7 separate regions of the Homo sapiens genome follow, and regions 2, 3, 4, 5, 6 and 7 are each linked to region 1. The links are contacts of gene promoters, found by promoter capture Hi-C in blood cells and fetal thymus (Javierre and others, 2016). All regions are on one chromosome and are shown on one strand. Each heading gives the region's core, a stretch centred on a gene start or on the middle of the fragment in contact. The rest is flanking DNA. Distances are from core to core; before and after follow the strand shown. Region 1 holds the start of TCF12 (transcription factor 12). Region 2 overlaps TCF12 (transcription factor 12). Region 3 overlaps ZNF280D (zinc finger protein 280D). Region 4 overlaps TCF12 (transcription factor 12). Region 5 overlaps ZNF280D (zinc finger protein 280D). Region 6 overlaps TCF12 (transcription factor 12). Region 7 has its middle 3.7 kb from the start of ZNF280D.

Region 1 (2,585 bases), core at 53-2,552:
ATAGCGGCCATGCGTTGTTGCTGGGGATTCATCTTCGGCCACTTCTAGCAGGTCCTAGGGCAGAGGAAACGGGCTCAGCGAGAGACCACCGAGGCCCAAAGTGTGTGAGGGAACAGAGAGAGGTACTGGGGAAGATTACGCAAGAGCGCTGGGGGCGCCGGGATGACTTCCAGGACCCCGACTCGCTCCCACCGCGGCGCGAGCAAGGGGCGGGAGGGCTCAGTGCCCGCGCCGGGTCCCGGAATCCACGCGTTCCTCGCCGCGGCCCGAGATCGACGCGGCGGCTCCCGCAACTCGCCGCCTCTCCCCCAAGTTTCCGAGCCAGTCTCTGCCACCTCCTCGGCGCCCCCTGCTCCGCGCCGCCGCCGGGTGCTCCGCGCGCCGGGCCCGGCCGCGGCTGGGGTCTCGAGGAGCGGGGTGAGGGGCAATTCGGCGTCCAGCGAGCGGAGCGGCGGCGAGCGGAGATGCGAAGTGACTCACTCGCTCGGCAACAATAGAACTGACAAGTTGCAGGGAACGCGCCGCTCGCAGGCCCGCGTCTGCGGCCGCCGCCGCCCGGACGTCCCCGGCGGGCCCAGGAGGTCGGAAAGCACCCCCAGCTCATCCAAGGGGCGTTTTTAAACAGAAAACAGAAACCCCGACAACTAGTCTCGCTCTCGGCCGGCGTCCTCCTCCCCAGGCTCGGCCTCCTCCCACTTTTGCTGCCCTGCCCCGGACCTGCCGAACAATGAGCCTGGCTCCGCGGCCGAAGCCGCCCGATCTCCCGCGCGCCCCGGAGCCTGGGCGCCGGCCCGAGTCGGGCACCGAACGGGGCGCACAGGCCGAGCGCGCCGCCAGCGGGCCTGAGCGCCCGCGACTCGAGCCTCCGCCCCCACTCCGCTCCCCAACTTGGAGGGGACCCCGGGTTTCGCGCTGTACAAAGGGGCGCGGAGTTGAGGCGGGGGACGGGGGCGCCCCCACTCCGGCAGGGACGCGGCGGCGCCCCGCAGCCCCCAGCCCCGCCGCGCCGCCCCACTCCCGCTCGCTAGCCCGCAATTACCTGCCGCCCCGTCTCCGCATCCAACCACCCCGATTAAAGTTCACTTTGGCCGGGAGAACGGGCTTGGGCTTCCCCTTGCACCGCCCAGCGGCTCGGTTCACTTTGCCCCGCACGAGCTCTCGGGTCTGGGAGGGGGAGGCGGCTTTCGGGCCTGGCCGCCCCTTCCTCCCGGGGCGGGCTGTCGGTCCCCCCGAATAGAACTTGTGGGTCTCTTCAGGCGGACATTTTTTTCGCTGAGGCGGCCTCACCACCGCGCTCGGCTCGCCTCCGGATCCCTCCGCGCCGGGAAGAGCCGCGGGTTAACCCTTCCCTCCCCGACCCGCTCCGCCGCCTAGGAAGTGGGGCCGGCAGAGGGGGCGGGGAGGAGCTGTCGGGGACTGGGAGGAGCCGCACCGCGGCGGGTGGACAAAGCCCGCGGTCGGGTGAGGCGGGACGGAGTTGGGGCCGGTGGGGAGGGGCATGAGGCGCTCGCAGGCACCTCGAGAAGCAGGCCCCGACCGCTCGCCGACGAAGCCTCGTCCGGGCCTCCTGGGAGCGGGGTGGCAGGTACCGTGGCGCCTCCTCGCGTTGGTCTTGCTGGTTCTCGGCCCCCGAAGCGGAGCGACGGAGACACAGCTGTGGAAGCATCTGGATCCGCTGCCCAGGTCCCCGAGCTTCCCGGAACCCGAGGCCGCAGGACACTGAAGGCTGCCATTCCCGAGTAGGTCACGCTGGACGCCACCCTAAGCTGGGCCCAGAGGCTCCCGTCCAGGAGGGCTGCAGTCGGCGCAGACACCGCGCGTGTGGAGACGGGAGACCCATCCTCCTCGGCCGTTCCGAGAGTAGGCGCGGCCGGTCAGATTCGATGCAGAGCCGAATGCGGGAGAAAGGGCAAAACGTACCTCAAACCAGACAAAGCCTTGTGAGCTTCAGGTTCTCAAATACCCCACTCACCCAGACCCCACATCTCCAGTCAGCCCCTCGCACCCAAATCCCATTCGGAGCAACCGAACTGCACGTGGGACTAGTTCTTGGGAATGGATCAAGCCAGTCTCTTCATCTAACGGAGACAGCCCTGGGTGGCTCTGTCACACAGCCACTGTCTTGTGCACAAGTTCTGAACTTGGCCTCAGAGAAGCCCCAGAGTAGAAAGAAGACAAAATAAGCCCCAGTTCTTCGATTCTGGGCTGAAGTGAGATTTTCTTGAATGGCAGCCATTGTTTTGCCTCTTAGGTAAGTGAGTGCAGTAAAGACCGGTAAGGCCCACGCAGAAGAAACACTGAGGAAAGAAGACACTTCCAAAGTAACAAATGGGAGGAAGCAGCCAACGCCCGAGGACAACATGGCAAGAAGGAGCCTTTGGATTCCGGACTGGGATGGAAAGAGAGGTAGATTCAGCTACCATATGCCATTACTGTAGTTAGTACAGTTGTCTCTATATCCGTGGGATTGGTTCCCAGACTCTGGATTTTCTAAGATGTTCAAGTCTCTTACATAAAAATGGTGTGTTTCCCCATATACTTTAAATCATATCTAGATTACTTATAAAACCTAATACAATGCAAAT
Region 2 (2,585 bases), core at 52-2,551, 250 kb before region 1:
TCTTTGTGGGAAGGTTTTTGATATGAATTAACTTTCATTAATAGATATACAGGCCGGGTGCAGTGGCTCACGCCTGTAATTCCAGCACTTTGAGAGGCTGAGGCGGGGGGATCACAAGGTCAGGGGTTTGAGACCCGCCTGGCCAATATGGTGAAACCCCATCTCTACTAAAAATACAAAAATTAGCCAGGCGTGGTGGCGGGCACCTGTAGTCCCAGCTACTCAGGAGGCTAAGGCAGGAGAATCACTCGAACCTGGGAGGCGGAGGATGTAGTGAGCCGAGATAGCACCACTTCACTCCAGCATGGGTAACAGAGTGAGACTCTGTCTAAAAAAAAAAAAAGAAAAAAAGATATACATGGATTCAGATTTTGTTTCAATTTGTCTCCTCTTGGTAAGTATTTTTCAAGGAATTCATTTATTTAATCTAAGTTGTCAAATTTACTAAGTTATAATATTTATTATATTCTTAATGTATATATGATTCATAGCAGTAACCTCTCTTTCATTCCAGATTCTGGTAATTTGTGTTCTTGTTCTCTTCTCCTTCCCCTTGTGTTAACTGGTCTAGCTAGGGGTTAACTTTATGATTTATTTCAAATAGCCAAATTTTGGTTTTGTTAGTTTTTTCTATTACATTGATTTCTGCTCTTATTTGTAGTATTTCCTTCTTTCTATTTATTTTGGGTTTACTTTGTGTTTCTTTTTCTAGCTAAGTTCTTAGGGCAGAATCTTGGTCATTCACTGTACATCTTTTCTAATACAAGCTTTCAAAAGTATACTTTCCTTCAAGGCACTGGTTTAGATGCACCAACACATTTTGTTATATCACATTTTCATTATTATTCAGTTAGAAATATCTTCTGAATTTCCTGTGGTTTCTTTTTAAAACAATGGGTCATTTAAACATGTTGCTTAACTTCTGAACATCTGGTGTTTTTCTAGATATCTTACTGACATTGGTTTTTGAGACAGAGTCTTGCTCTGTTGCCCAGGCTGGAGTGCAGCAGTGCAATAACAGCGCACTGCAGCCTCGAACTCCTGGGCTCAAGCAATCCTCCCGCCTCAGCCTCCTGCCACCACACCTGACTAGTTTTCTTTTTTTTTTTTTTAATTTTAATAGAGACAGAGTCTAACTATGCTGCTCAGTCTGGTCTTGAACTCCTGGGCTCAAGTGATCCTCCTGAATCGGCCTTCCAAAGGGCTGGGGTTACAGGCATGAGTCACCACACCTAGTCTTACTGACTTCTAATACAACTTTGCTTTTTACTAAACTTGTATTTTAGATTCAGAGGCACATGTTCAGCTTTGTTATATAGGTAAACTCGTGTCGGGGAGGTTTGTACACGTTATTTCATCACCCAAGAAGTAAGCCTAGCACCCAATAGCTATTTTTTCTGATCCTCTCCCTCCTCCCACCCTCTACCTTCAAGGAGGCCCCCGTGTCTACAGGTGCCTTCTTTGTGTCCCTGAGTTCTCATCAGAGTTTTTATTTAAGTCTTTTGTGTCCAGAGAACATACTCTGTATGGTTTCAAACCTTTCCAATTTACTGACACTAGTTTTATGGACCAGCGTATGATTCCAGCCTGTTAGTGTAATGTGTGCCCCTGAAAGGAATTTATGTTCTTCAGTTGTTGTATGCAGAGTTCTATACATATCATTTAGGTCAAGGTTGTCGATAGTTAATTTTGTTCTACATCTTTACTAAGTTTTTTGTCTAGTTATTCTGCAAACTGCTAAGACAGAAGTATTCAATTTTCCAAGCATGATTGTCAATTTGTTTATCTCTCTCTTTAATTCTATCAATTTTTGTTTTGCTTCGTTTTGAAGCTTTCTTATTAGGCGTATACACATCTGTCATTGTTATGTCTTTCTGATACATCAACTCTTTTATTATTTTATTATTATAAATGTCTGCATATGAGATTGGGTATAACAGGAAAAAAGAACAAGGAAAAACCAAATGGTATAAGCTTATCTCCAAACAACTAAGAGTTAAGTAAGGTACAGTTTTTAAAGCTGTCATTTTTTCAAGGGTATAATATCTGAACTCAGATGAACTTCACACTTTCTGAAAAAAACCAAGACCCTGCCACCTTCTACATTTAAACACTTAGAGAAAAACTTATGAAACTATGTGAATAAATACTTGCTTAAGAGGTATAAATGAAAAACTTTGTTATACTGATAAAAGGATTTTTCACTTAACTGTGGTAGTTTTTAAAGTGATATACCTATTATTAATAAAGACACTGGCTTCTATGCTCTGTGTTTCATCAATAAAAAAATTTAACTGCAGAATGATCTATCAGTGTTTCCAGTAATACTGCCACATGAGTTTCCTTTTAATGGCTCATCAGTTAATGTGATTGTTGTGAATGTAATATGATGACACTCATTTAGCAACATATTATTACATCATCTTAACATGAAGTAAGGCCCATCAGGCATTATTAAATTAGTCTGAATTTTGCAGTATGTCAGCAGCATTTTATGTACATTAATAGCAGAGTTAATGCTCCTTGGGGAATTCTGTTGAAGAAAAATGGTTTTAATGTGGTGTTTGGGTATAATTTTGGAGTCA
Region 3 (2,585 bases), core at 36-2,535, 240 kb after region 1:
TAAAGCTTGAAACTTCAAGTCAAGACAGAAGGTGATAGATAAAAAGATCTGATAAAGAGAAGGAGATCTAGTTTTGTTTTGGGATGTATCCCTTAACTTTGAAAGCTACGTTTAATGTCTCAAAGATGGTCTTTTGGTGTTGCCTTAGTGAGATTCTTGGTTGCAAAGGCATCAGAGCTAGATTAGTAGTACATAATGTTCTCCTGACAAATTATCCATCATTGTTCCTTTGTAATTGCATATCAGTTTTAAATTTTCAAGTTAAACTAAGCCTTCTTTCTTTTTTTAGGTTTGTAATTATAGATCATCATCATTTTCTGATGTAGAAACTCATTTTAGAACATCCCATGAAAACACTAAGAACTTGCTATGCCCGTTTTGCCTCAAAGTTATTAAAATTGCAACACCATATATGCATCATTATATGAAGCATCAGGTGAGATTTACCAGTTCTTATTTGTTTATTATGTTGTCTTAGTGAAAAAACTGATTATGACTTGGAGAATCTTTAGATTTGTTCTGCAAGAGAAGCAGAGTTGTTCCAAATGACACTATTAATTTACACTTCAAGTTGAATTGCTTGTGAAAATTCCACTTCTTTTCCTTACTTCCTTTCTGGTGATGGTGTGGGTCATAAATAATGAAAATTCTGAAAGATAGCTAGAAATAGGAAGCTGAGGATTGACAGAAAAAGAAAAAGTTGAGTGGAATATCCAAAAGATTGAATATTTCAGGGTCTAAAGGTAGATATGAGAATGATTTTGAAGGGAGTTATCAGGACAAAGGGAATAATGAGTTTGAACTGAGGAAGAAAAGACTGAGGATTTATAATCTTATTTTTCGTTTTGCTCTTCAAACTTTATTTCAACTTTCTAACCCCTTATCATTATGAGAAGACATGTTGTCATTGACCTGGAGTTGTCTTTTATAGTTGTGTGACCATGGGAATAGTAATGACACTTACTGATCAGTATATGAACTCTGGCAGAGAACTATATTTAGATCATCACTTGTTCCCTGGATGGCTTCCACCAGTTTTGCTATATAATTTTGGAACTCAATATTAGTGCTTGTACCCCTCCCTTGAATTCTGATATTATGCTTATTGGCTCTTTTCCTGAAGCAATTAAACCATCTTTTATTTGGGCTAAAAATTTTGATGCAATACTAATCCTGTTCTTGCGTGCTTGAAAGAACAACAGTGCCTTTGCCAAAATTAGAAACCAATGGATTTACCGAATCTGATCATGTAATCAAATTTTGTCAACTCACTACAAAGCTCAATACATTCTCTTATTATTGATTAAATTGACATGCCAATTTATTCAGCATTGGTGCTCACTTTGCTGTCATTTTCAGTTGTTAGTTAAGTCATGAAATTGACTTGCTGTTTTTAATTGGAGAAGATCATGAAAGTAGAATTTCCAGATCAATTTGGGATCATATGTGTTGTGACTAGGATGCCACACATCCTTGAGAGTTTCTGGCAAGATCTATTCTAAGGTTTCCCCAATTACATATAGTAAATTACATATAGTAAGAATTACCTGTAAATCTCTCAAGTCTCCCAAACAATGTAGTATACTTATAAAAAATTTAATACAGATATTTATTTATTCTTGGAATAGATCACTGTTTGTTTTGTTGAACATAGTGTTATAAAAAAAAAAAAGTATCTTCATCACCCTTAGTGCATTTCTTTATGAACAGAATTTGGGAAACACTATTCTTGATACCCCGTATTTCATCTTTGGACTTTAATTTTGAAAGGGAGAATGAGGTATAAAGCAGTAGCTCTAGTTCACGATGGGGTTTTTAAACATAATCTTTCCCAGGTGCTTTGTCAAACTATAGAGTGAGATAGAGATGTGGGAAGAATAGTAACTATGGTAGAGATTTGGGGACCTGCTATGTGCCTGTGTGATTTATAAGCAAGTTGTCATGCCCTGAGTTGTATGTTTTAACTTGCCATGGCTGCCAATTTTCTTTTTTGTTTGGAGTGCCTGGGAGGTAGATAGCCAGCAGTAAAGAGGGGGCAGTCTATTAGTAAGGATCATTGGGCATCTTTGAAGGTATTTACAATTTGTGTAATGATTTACAAGACTGGAAAACCATAGCTGAGTGGGATTATAAACTTGTAGTTGAGATAACATTATTACCAAAGTATTAGACAATCAGAATAGTTGACTCCATGCCTCATTTTATTGTCTTTGAAGAACTCAGTTGTAACTTTTTTTAAAGATTATATTATTATGTCTTTAGTGATTTTAGAGTTAATAACCCAGTTTGTGTGACTTTTAAGAAATATTGATAGAAATTCCAGATGTGTTAAATATGCTCATTAGAGCTTTAATAAAACAAGCAGTTAACATACACTAATTACTTACCTTATGGCAGCAGCTGGTACTTTACATGCATTTTCTTGTTTAATCCTCTCAACCACTAGATGTATATTATTATTTCAGTTTTATAGATGAGGAAACAGAGCTTTAGAGAAAGTAACTTGCCTAATGTCACATTGTCTAATAAAGGCAGAGTCAAAATTTGACTTAGCATCCAAGCTTTTACTGCTCTACCAGAGTTGG
Region 4 (2,585 bases), core at 43-2,542, 220 kb before region 1:
ATAAATATACACAAAGGCTTAGCCCACTATGTGTCCCAAATAAATAGTTAAATAAAGGCTATCTGCAATAATTACACGGCACTTTGTAATCAGCAAGCCCTAAGTGATGGAAGGCTTTACTATTAGGCCTTAGATCTATGAATGCAGGAACCTTATCAAACTTGTTTCCTTTGTTTCCACAGTCCTTAGCATAACGTCTGACACTTAGCACATGATCTATAAATATTTGTTGAATAAAAGGAGATTAAAATACTCAAGGGTTGTTGGATGATGAACCTTTTAAGGTTCCTCCTGATCCCGATAATCTGTCTTTATGAATCTGACTACTCTAGGTACTTCACAGAAATGGAATTATACAGTATTTGTCTTTTTATGACTGGCTTATTTCACTTAGCATACTCATTCAATTAAAACATTATCAAGATCCATCCATGTTATAGCATGTGTCAGAATTTCCTTTCTTTTTAAGGCTCAATAATATTCTGTTGTATGCATATACCACATTTTGTTCATCCATTCATTCATCAACACACACTTGGTTACTTCCATCCTTTGGTTAACTGGGAATAATGCTGATATGAACATAGGTGTACAAATGTCTCTTTCAGATCTTGCTTTCAATTCTTTTGGGTATGTACCTGGAAGTAATACTGCTGGATCATATGGTAATTATGTTGATTTTTTGAGGAATAAACTGTTTTTAATTAAATGGCAAAGTGCCTGTCCGATTTCTGTGGGAAAGACGGCATCTACTATACTCCAAATGTTAATACTGATAATGACTGAATGATAGGACTGTGAGTGAATGAAGTTTACTGTCTCTTTTTCTGGCTTACTGTAATTTCCAGATCTTCTATAGGGAGATTATGGAAATTAAAGAATGAAAACATCTATAAAGCTTTTTTGGTACTATTACTTTTTTCTTGAGTGTCATAGCAAATGCTTTAATATTCCTAGCCCCTAAACATTAGTGCAAGCATACTTTTTCTATGAATGCAGGCCACAGCTATAATGCTCTAACTTTTTTTTTTTGGTTTAAAGAAGTAAACATTAGAGATTTTTTAGTGTTTGCAAATAAAGGTGATGGCTAGGAACCTGGAAGATCTCCCTGGTGGTTTAGTTATGCAGGAGCAAAGCCCTATGTAATGAGTGATACTATTAATTTTTCCAGGGAAAAGGACTAAGATTCACTAAAGTTTGCCTAGTCAAGAGAATCTGTCTTCTGCTCCCAATTATCATAATCACCGCTAACACCCTTAAACTGTTTAGGGATGGATACCAACATGCAGCTGAAATCTAGTTATATGTATGATGATTTCTGAAACATCTATACAATAGAACATTAGGTCTTTGCTTTGAAAATTTAGTGTATGTAATTAATAGCCATAAAACGGATTATAAAAGACCATCATTCTTGTGGTACACATGAGTAAGAAATTTTAGAGCAGAGGAAAGTAAGGGGACAGAGATTACGAGAGCAAGAGGAAAGGATATTGGAGAAGGAAGAGTAACTAGAAAAAGAGAAGTCAAGGAGAGGTGAGAAGGGAGAGAGAAAAACAGACTGAGACTGACTGAGATTAATTTTGTCTAAATTATAGGCTAATGTGTTTGGGACAGTCTAAATATGATCTTATCTAGAGGACCTCTCAAGGTCCTTTCTGGAACTGGGATTATGTATAAAGCTTAATTTTAGCTCAAGTTCTCAACTGAAATAGGTAAATGATCTCAGCTACTGGTTAATTTAATCATATATTCACTTACTTAAATTTTTCTCAATTTCAGAAATATTAGTTACAATATTCTAAACCTAAAATTTTGATCATTTAGTAACAGCAAAACTCTTCATAACTGAAAACATCAATTGGTAGCACGCGCTTAAAAAAGAAATGACTACATAATGGCTTATAATGAAAATACCTGGTCATTTGCTTTTTATCTATGAACCCCAATAAACATAGTTAGGCCTCTTCTAGCTCTACCACTTTCTGCCTATTGCCTTATTTTAACTGTCTCCAAATGAACTCTTTTGAGAATAAGTGATTTTAAAAACAAACAGCTGCCCTGTTCCTACAACTGGCTGTTAGAATGGTTTATAAAGTGGAATATATGAATTACCCCTCTAAGCTTTACACTTTTCCTTTCGGTTAGATAGGAAACAGATCTGATTATCTGTGAAGTACTTGTCTGGAATAGCCATAGCAGTTGCCTAAATTTCCACTGGAGGCAGCAGACTCCCCAGGCAAACCCACATCCCATGACTTCTGAAGGTTTTAAGCCAGGAATGGTTAACAGGGTAAGAGAAGAAGGCTTTAAGATAAGGCACATTCCAAGCTTACAGAAAGCTTCTTCCAAGATCCGATTTAAACACTGAAACCCAGGCTCAGCTGTAGAGAAGCAGTGTTAAATGAAAAAACATGAAAAACAGAAATCTTTAGTTAACGCTGAAGTGTCATTTTAGACATGAGCATCAAAGTATAATTTCATGAAATATTTAGCCATCAGTGATATTAACAAGTAAAAGTAAAATGGAAAAACTGGAAATTCTTCTCTTTTGCCTGTCTTTGTTCTCTACCAAGGAGAGAACT
Region 5 (2,585 bases), core at 32-2,531, 210 kb after region 1:
CAACTTCTTGGTTAGTAATGCAATCCCCAATTAAAACATTTGTATGGTGGGGAGACAAAAAGAAAGATTAACTTTATAATGTGATTTTTTGGATTATTTCATTGATTTTATATCTTGAATTTATGGGATTGGGGGAGATGTAGAAGTTAACCATTTGACCGGGCATGGTGGCTCACACCTGTAATGCCAGCACTTTGGGAGGCCAAGGCGGGCAGATCACTTGAGTTCAGGAGTTCAAGACCAGCCTGGCCAACATGGTGAAACCCCATCTCTACCAAAAATACAAAATTAGTTGGGCATGATGGTGCGCACCTATAATCCCAGCTACTCGGGAGGCTGAGGCAGGAGAATCACTTGAACCTGGAAGGTGGAGGTTGCAGTGAGCTGAGATGGTGCCACTGCTCTCCAGCCTGAGCAACAGAGCAAGACTCCACCTCAGAAAAAAAAAAAAAAAAGCCATTCACCATGTTCCTCATAATCACTTTTGTGTTTTAATTACCAGCTATTTATTTATTTATTTTTTAGAAAATAAAATACTAAGATACATGTAGAATGAGTGTTTTTTCTTTTCTTTCTTTCCTTTTTTTTTTTTTTTTTTTTTGGTATGAGGGTCTCACACTGTCACCCAGGCTGGAGTGCAGTGGCCCAGTCTCGGCTCACTGCAGCCTCAACCTCTTATAGCTGGGACCAGGGGCATGTGCCACCACTCCCAGTAATTTTCTTGTATTTTTTGTGGAGATGGGGTTTTGCCATATTGCCCAGGCTGAGCTCAAGTCATCCTCCAACCTTGGCCTCCCAAAGTGCTGGAATTAGAGGCATGAGCCACTATGCCCAGCCTGAACGTTTTTTTCTTAATAGAAATGGTGTAAAGATACCTTATCTAAATGTTAATTTTTATATGTTGGTACTTTTGAATTGGATACTTATTCTATTAGATTAGTAGTATGTAATTTAACAGTGTGTTATGTTTATATGAGGGTTAAAATTTTTTTTGGTGTATATTTTAATTAGTTTAGAAATGCTTTTTTAAAAAGATGAAAATGTGGTAGGATAGATTTGACAGCCACAGTCTGGAAGATATAAAGCTAAAATTTCATCATGAGAAATTTCACTGTAATGAAGGTCATGTACCACATAATGATGTTTAGGTCAAGGACAGACTGCATTATATAATACGGTGGTCCTGTAAGATTATAATGGACTGAAAAATTCCTATTACCTAGTGATTTGTGTTATAATTGCCTGCGGTATTCAGTACAGTAACATGCTATACAGGTTTATAGCCTAGGAGCAATAGGCTATACCATATAGCTTGGATGTGTAGTAGGCAATACCATCTAGGTTTGTGTAAGTACTGTAGACTCTACGATGTTCTCACAACTACAAAATCATCTAATGATACATTTGTCAGAACTTATCCCTGTTGTTAAGTGATGCATGACCATAAAACAAAATGATTTCTAAATGCTTAGCTGATAGCACGTAAATTCCAGTATAACAGAATTGGGATCAGTTCTTTTTTTTGTTTTTTTGAGACTGAGTCTTGCTGTGTCACCCAGACTGGAGTGCAGTGGCACGATCTCAGCTCACTACTGCAACCTCTGCCTCCTGGTTAAAGCCATTCTTCTTCAGCCTCCCGAGTAGCTTGGATTACAGGCATGCTCCACCATGCCCGGCTAATTTTTTTATTTTTAGTAGAGTCCCGGTTTCACCATGTTGGCCAGGCTGTTCTTGAACTCCTGACCTCAAGTGATCCACCTGCCTCGGCCTCCCAAAGTGCTGGAATTATAGGTGTGAGCCACCATGCCTGGCCTCGAGTTCTTTAAAATGGGATTTATCTCAGAGTTAAAAATAGTTAAACATCGTTGAGTGGTTTCCATGTGCCAGGCACTGAGATGTGTTTTACATATATTATCTCATTTAATCTTCACTATAATCCAATGACATAAGTCTATTTTTATTTTTTATGTATATGTAAATGGTAAATGTATGTATAAAAAGCAGTAAAGCAAGGCACTAGGTTAACTAACTTGTCCAACATCATATTGGTAATAAGTGATTGAGTCAGAATTTGAATTTGGCATTCATTCTTCACCATGTTTTACTCTTCATGGTTACTAAATGTTTAAAGTATACAATAGATTTTGAGCTGAATTAAGCCAGAATCTTTCAGTTGAACTATAAGCCTGAGAGCTAGAATTGAAGATGACTTGGCAGAAGGTTGTGGCCATGCTGGTACTATGACTTGGTTCTCCTGGTTTCTAGTGCGATATTCTTTTTTTAAATGTGCAGATACTACAGTTGTAGTTTGTGAAATTGCTTAATTTTTTTCTTATCAGAAAGTAAAGAGGACTATATCTAGTATATAGCACACCTGTGTCCATAGTATGTGCTCTGTACTTGATCACATGCAGTATTAATATTATTTAACACGGCAGCAGTACATCGGGTGATATCTATCAATGGATGAAAGTGAAAATTTCAGATAGTTAAAACACTTAGACCCACATTTCCATTGATTTCTAATTTTTTTTATAGAAAAAATAAGATACAGTTTAATTTTAGATAAAAACTGAAACCAAAAA
Region 6 (2,585 bases), core at 58-2,557, 200 kb before region 1:
GATCCATGAAGAAGGCCCCCATCATGCTGGCCAAGGTGAAGTCAACCAGAGTGCCCAGAATTCTACAGGGGATGATGGAGCCAAAGATACCCAAACATGCTAGCTCCCAAATTCCCTAGCCAGTCTCAGCATTGTTTGTCATAGCTGTACTATTTAATATTTTCCTCACATCAATGTTTTGCTGAAATCAAGTAACAGGAAATGAAAATGATAAATCTCTATGGAACAAAGTGGAATCAAAAACATGGAAACCAAAGTATATGAAAAACTCCACTAGAACAGAATGGAAAATCAGCAGCATTTGCCATGAACAGAAACTTCCTGCTTTAGATTCTGAGCCAGAGGCCTTTAGAGGAGAGACTCAAGAATTAAACCAGACACAGTGGCTCACATCTATAATCCCAGCACTTTGGGAGGTTGAGGTAGCGGGATCACTTGAGCTCAGGAATTTGAGACCAGCCTGGGCAATGTGAGACTGTGTCCCTATGGAAAAAAAAAAAAAATTTTTTTTTTTTTTGAGACGGAGTCTCACTCTGTCGCCCAGGCTGGAGTGCAGTGGCGCATCTCGGCTAACTGCAAGCTCTGACTCCCGGGTTCACCCGGGTTCACGCCATTCTCCTGCTTCAGCCTCCTGCGTAGCTTGGACTACAGGCGCCTGCCACCAGGCCCGGCTATTTTTTTGTTTTTTGTACTTTTCTAGTAGAGATGGGGTTTCACTGTGTTAGCCAGGATGGTCTCGATCTCCTGACCTCGTGATCCACCCGCCTCGGCCTCCCAAAGTGCTGGAATTACAGGCATGAGCCACTGCACCCGGCCTTAAAACTTTTTTTTTTTACATTAGCTGAGTGTAGTGGTGCTCGCCTGTAGTCCCATCTACTCAGGAGGCTGAGGTTGCAGTGAGCTGAGATTGTGCCACTATGTTCCAGCCTGGACAACAAAGCAAGATCCTGTCTTAAAAAAAGAAAAAAAAAAAGAGAAGTGGTAGAGTTGCCTTAGCAGCAAATGGAGATTGTCTACCTAATTAGAAGAAATGAAAGACTTTCAAACAAAATACTTTAAAAGAATCTTACAATGGAATTCAAAGTTATTTAACTCTGTGTTAGTATCCCAAATAAATCATTTAAAGAAACAAGGAAATTAAAAAATTTTAAACATTGTTAGCAGTGGTTTCAGCTTCAAAATAAAGCTCATTACCAAAAATAATGCTAATTATATACTTTCTATTGCAAAAGCCTCAGACTTTCATTCACTTAAGAATTATTTTCGTTCATGCTCATTCACTTCATTTAAATCATCAAAGCCATGTAAAAGCAAAAATTTTCTGACATAGCAAAGAGCTAAAGTTTGAATTTAACAAGAAAGAAACACACATAAAGGCAGGAAGTTTACTATTGTATCATTCATTGTTGTGAATGACATCTGTCTTTTTTGCTTCAATGTTGGTAATTATTTTGCATTTAGTTTAAATGTTTGATTTTCTCATCCACTCAACCTTTTCTCCACAATAATCTGAGACCCCTTTCCATTAAATTATTTTAAAAAGCTGTTTTTTAGTTGGTCTGCTCTGCTTATCTATTTTATGTAGAAAGAATAAATCCCTTTCAAATCTCTGTTCAATTTTTTCTACAACTAATGAACACATCCTAATTTATGAGCCTCACTCTTAGAAGGCTTAGTTTATGACCAGTTTGTAAGAGATCTAGTGAATACACATTTTTCTAAATACTGCATTCCAAATTTAATTGTATTTAACAGATACATTCCAAAGGTCCTAACAAAAACAAAACCAGGAAATAAAATGATGGGATGAATTGGCTCTTCTGGTGGTTCTCTTTGAAGCTGAGAAACTATAGTAGTAGCACAGCATTGTATTTTAAGAACATGTACTTTGGAGTCAGAGAAATCTGAGTTCGTTCTACTTCCTCAATCACAACTTAATAGTCGCTGCAGCAAGTTTGTTAGTTGACTTCTCAAGTTTGTTTCTATACCCATAAAATAATGCTGTTAAAAGAATTGAATGAAATAATGAATATAAACACTTCTTACAATGCCTGGCTTACAGGTATGTGCTGAACAAACTGTAGTTACTAGTATATATGATCATTATAATGAGAATTACATTGTCTTTCTGTTTTGTTTTTTGGCCACAAACATGAAGTCCAGTGATTATGTTTCAGGAAATCAAACATGCATCTCTCCTAAGATTGCTTAAGCTCTGATGAAGGGGACTTAAAGCTATAACACAAGGCAAATTTTTATTTCCTCAAAGGTGCCATGGTGAAAAAAATGTGAAAAAAAAAAATCAAGCAAGACTTTAAAAATGAGGTGATGTTTGAACAGGACTATGAAGCATGGGCAGGTTTGGGGGTGGTTTTTTTTTTTTTTTTGTACAAGGAAACAAGGAGATAAGAAGCAGGAAAAGTGAAAACATTTTAAATAGAATAGCATATAGTAGACAATAAATGTTGGCTAAATATGTAATACACAAATAAAAATCTCTATTTTATTCTAATCTCACCCATAGGTATACTGTGTTCACTCACCATCATAAAAATATGGCAAGGACAACCTAGTAAGTTATATAT
Region 7 (2,585 bases), core at 42-2,541, 180 kb after region 1:
GTTAATTCTGTTCTATGCTAATCTCCTTCTGATAACATCTTGCTAAAAATATCAAAAATCACCAACCTCTACCATTAATATTGCTTTCTGAACTCTTCCCTTAGCTCTACAAGTTATGTAGATACTAATCTGCCTTGTGAGATATTGTAAGCAAGAGTTTAGCCACTGCCTAAAGTGAACCTTCAGCTGTCCACCCTCCTACATCTATTTCCTCGATTCCCACCTGATTGCTGTGCTAAGCTAATGACACACATTTTAGTTTTTATCATTGTAGGCCATCACTATTATTAATCAGAGTTAGTGATTTGAGCTATTGCAACAAACCACCCTCAAATCTCAGGGTCTTAACCCAATAAAGGTTTATTTTTTGCTCCAATCAGTCCAGTGAGGATCAGTGTGTTGATGCAATTTTTAAGAAACCCAGAGTCCTTCTATATAATGTTGCTGCCATCCCCCAGCTTCTCAGAGTTTTCTGTATCTAGCTGACTGGTGTGTGAAAAACAAATAGGAACTATAAATTACTGGAAGTTTTAAGGTCAGGCTTGCATGGGAGGGTCACTGCTTCTGTTTACATTCCACTGTCCAGAATTAGTTACACAGCCCAATATAAAAGGTAAGGAAGCTGGGAAACATAGGTTTCCTGGGTGCAAAGAGGAAAATAAGATGGTGAATATGTATCATTATCTCTGTCACACTTAACGATGATTTCAGTTGCAGGTAAGAGAAAATTCAACTCAAATTGGCCTTGTGGGGGAGGAAAAACTTTTCTTCTACTTTTTGAGGTTCTATAATTGGGGGCCTGTGAATAAACTGACAAAGGACAAGAGAAGACAGATTTTAATCACATATGTACGTAAGGAGATCACAAGGAAGTGTTGACTCCAGAGGGTGGTTAGAATTTGGGGCTTAGAGACTGATATACTTCCCTGAAGGGGAGGGGGAGAAAAGCACTTATGGGAAAACAAATGACTTCTTAGAAGGGGAAGGAGCAGAAAGGGAACTTACGGAAATGACTTTTGGGAAAGATAAATGGGCCCTTTGGAGAATAGATGGGAGATATCATAGTTGTTTTGACAATGTCTGTTTAGATGTGGTGACATTCTCATAGTCTCTGACGGTGACTCAATCTTCCTTGGTTGCTCCCTGGAGGGAATTTATAACAATTGAGTTCTTTTGGGTTCTTTTGAAAGGCTCTGCTTTTAGGTAGATAAGGGATTTCAGGAACATAAACATATTCAGCTCAAAATAATTTTTATGCCACAATGGCTTATTCTGGATCCCTTCAGCTTAAACAACAAAGGTGATTTATTAGCTCATAAACCAGAAAAGTCTAGAGGCAGTATGGGTTCCGGTGATGTTTTATTTGAAGGTTTATGATTCTCTCAGGGATTGGCTTCCTTTCCCTATGATTGATTCTCCCAGCTATTCCTCCTTCACGTGTTGGCTTTATTTTCAGTTGGCTCTACTTAGTAGCAAAGAAAAAAAAAAGAGGGAGAATGTAGCTCTTCCAGTATTTACATTTGAATGCCATACCATTCAGAGAAAAAAAAGAACTTCTGTATTCTCTGCAATAAAACAAAAATCCTAGGCTTCCCTCTGATTGGCCTCTGAAACAAAAACTAGTTCAAAGGGTGAGGGTAACTCTGATAACTTTTGGCCAGTTGGACAATTCTTGGACCTGCTGTGCGGTGTATTACGTCTGTCCAAATTGCATGGATGAACACAAAGTAATTGTGGAATGAAAGCTGGGAGATCACCCATATTCACTGCAATAATTCAGGTAAGGATGTGGAGCATAATCTCACTTAAGGAGAATGAGTACTGTGAGGATATCTATAGCAAGTGTGTAACATGTAGAACAGGCTGAGAATGTAAGTCAGAGAAGCTCATAAAAAATGGTGGGAAAGCTCAGACCGTAAGTCAGGAGAACCAAAAGAACGGCGTTCTAGAGGCCAAGGGCGTATGATGTCAGAAGTTTGAAGGACGATGTCAGAATCATCCAAATAACTTCCTGTGTGCTGATTCTATTCTCATGAGTCATCTTTTGTAATTTGGCCTCTCACGTAAATGTTCCTTTGAATGAAAATACATTAACCAGCTTTTTGGTCTCCATGGCAGTTGTGTTTTTCATGAACAACAACAAAAAATAATTGCAATTTTGGCTTACACATGTGTCTCAGTAAGTTTGGTTGGTATGAATCATCCCCCAGGATTCAAATTAGTTCTGGAGACTGGCAACATTGAGCTTTTGTCTCTACAAAGTGAGGACTAGACTCTAGAATACAGAGTGCAATCTTCTCTTTCATCCTGTTATAAATAAAAATAATAGGATGCCATCATTTTATTATTTTTACTTTTTATTTTCATAGGTTTTTGGAGAACAGGTGGTGTCTCGTTACATGAATACGTTCTTTAGTGGTGATTTCTGAGATTATGGAGCACCCATCACCCGAGCAGTATACACTCTACCCAATGTATAGTCTTTTATTCCTCACTCCCCTCTCACGCTCTCCCCGGAGTCCCCAAAGTCCACTCTATCATTACTATGTCTTTGCATCCTTATAACATAGCTCCCACTTACGAGA

The links. Contacts are between HindIII fragments. The CHiCAGO score rates a contact against its expected background, and 5 or more counts as called.
Region 2: a contact is called between a fragment that was not itself captured here and the fragment with the promoter of TCF12 in region 1, in 2 of 17 cell types (naive CD4 T cells and activated CD4 T cells). The highest score is 5.3, in naive CD4 T cells.
Region 3: a contact is called between a fragment that was not itself captured here and the fragment with the promoter of TCF12 in region 1, in 1 of 17 cell types (fetal thymus). The highest score is 7.3, in fetal thymus.
Region 4: a contact is called between a fragment that was not itself captured here and the fragment with the promoter of TCF12 in region 1, in 8 of 17 cell types (endothelial precursors, M0 macrophages, activated CD4 T cells and 5 more). The highest score is 10.3, in endothelial precursors.
Region 5: a contact is called between a fragment that was not itself captured here and the fragment with the promoter of TCF12 in region 1, in 1 of 17 cell types (fetal thymus). The highest score is 9.7, in fetal thymus.
Region 6: a fragment that was not itself captured here is called in contact with the fragment with the promoter of TCF12 in region 1 in 2 of 17 cell types (M2 macrophages and total CD4 T cells); the score reaches 5.3 in M2 macrophages.
Region 7: a fragment that was not itself captured here is called in contact with the fragment with the promoter of TCF12 in region 1 in 1 of 17 cell types (fetal thymus); the score reaches 6.3 in fetal thymus.

What each region holds. Positions count from the first base shown.
Region 1 is chr15:56,917,361-56,919,945 of GRCh38, reverse strand. It overlaps TCF12 (transcription factor 12), which reads right to left and starts at 1,302. Exons shown (of 21, transcript NM_207037.2): 1 at 1,040-1,302; 2 at 1-54. The coding sequence starts at 32. TCF12-DT (TCF12 divergent transcript) reads left to right here and starts at 1,447. Exons shown (of 4, transcript NR_015419.2): 1 at 1,447-2,406. RefSeq lists silencers at 263-702, 753-1,042, 1,133-1,182, 1,353-1,482, 2,003-2,142. The HindIII fragment of the contact is 11,533 bases long and covers 1-2,585 here.
Region 2 is chr15:57,171,472-57,174,056 of GRCh38, reverse strand. All of the region lies in intron 6 of TCF12 (transcription factor 12), which reads right to left. Among named protein-coding and RNA genes, the nearest start is that of SNORD13D, 110 kb to the left of the region's middle. The HindIII fragment of the contact is 1,064 bases long and covers 770-1,833 here.
Region 3 is chr15:56,674,521-56,677,105 of GRCh38, reverse strand. ZNF280D (zinc finger protein 280D) reads left to right here. Exons shown (of 22, transcript NM_017661.4): 13 at 290-436. Among named protein-coding and RNA genes, the nearest start is that of ZNF280D, 58 kb to the left of the region's middle. The HindIII fragment of the contact is 2,556 bases long and covers 8-2,563 here.
Region 4 is chr15:57,138,105-57,140,689 of GRCh38, reverse strand. All of the region lies in intron 5 of TCF12 (transcription factor 12), which reads right to left. Among named protein-coding and RNA genes, the nearest start is that of SNORD13D, 140 kb to the left of the region's middle. The HindIII fragment of the contact is 784 bases long and covers 901-1,684 here.
Region 5 is chr15:56,710,611-56,713,195 of GRCh38, reverse strand. All of the region lies in intron 1 of ZNF280D (zinc finger protein 280D), which reads left to right. Among named protein-coding and RNA genes, the nearest start is that of ZNF280D, 22 kb to the left of the region's middle. The HindIII fragment of the contact is 7,498 bases long and covers 1-2,585 here.
Region 6 is chr15:57,121,901-57,124,485 of GRCh38, reverse strand. All of the region lies in intron 5 of TCF12 (transcription factor 12), which reads right to left. Among named protein-coding and RNA genes, the nearest start is that of SNORD13D, 160 kb to the left of the region's middle. The HindIII fragment of the contact is 3,911 bases long and covers 1-2,585 here.
Region 7 is chr15:56,735,955-56,738,539 of GRCh38, reverse strand. No RefSeq gene overlaps it. Among named protein-coding and RNA genes, the nearest start is that of ZNF280D, 3.7 kb to the right of the region's middle. The HindIII fragment of the contact is 5,857 bases long and covers 1-2,585 here.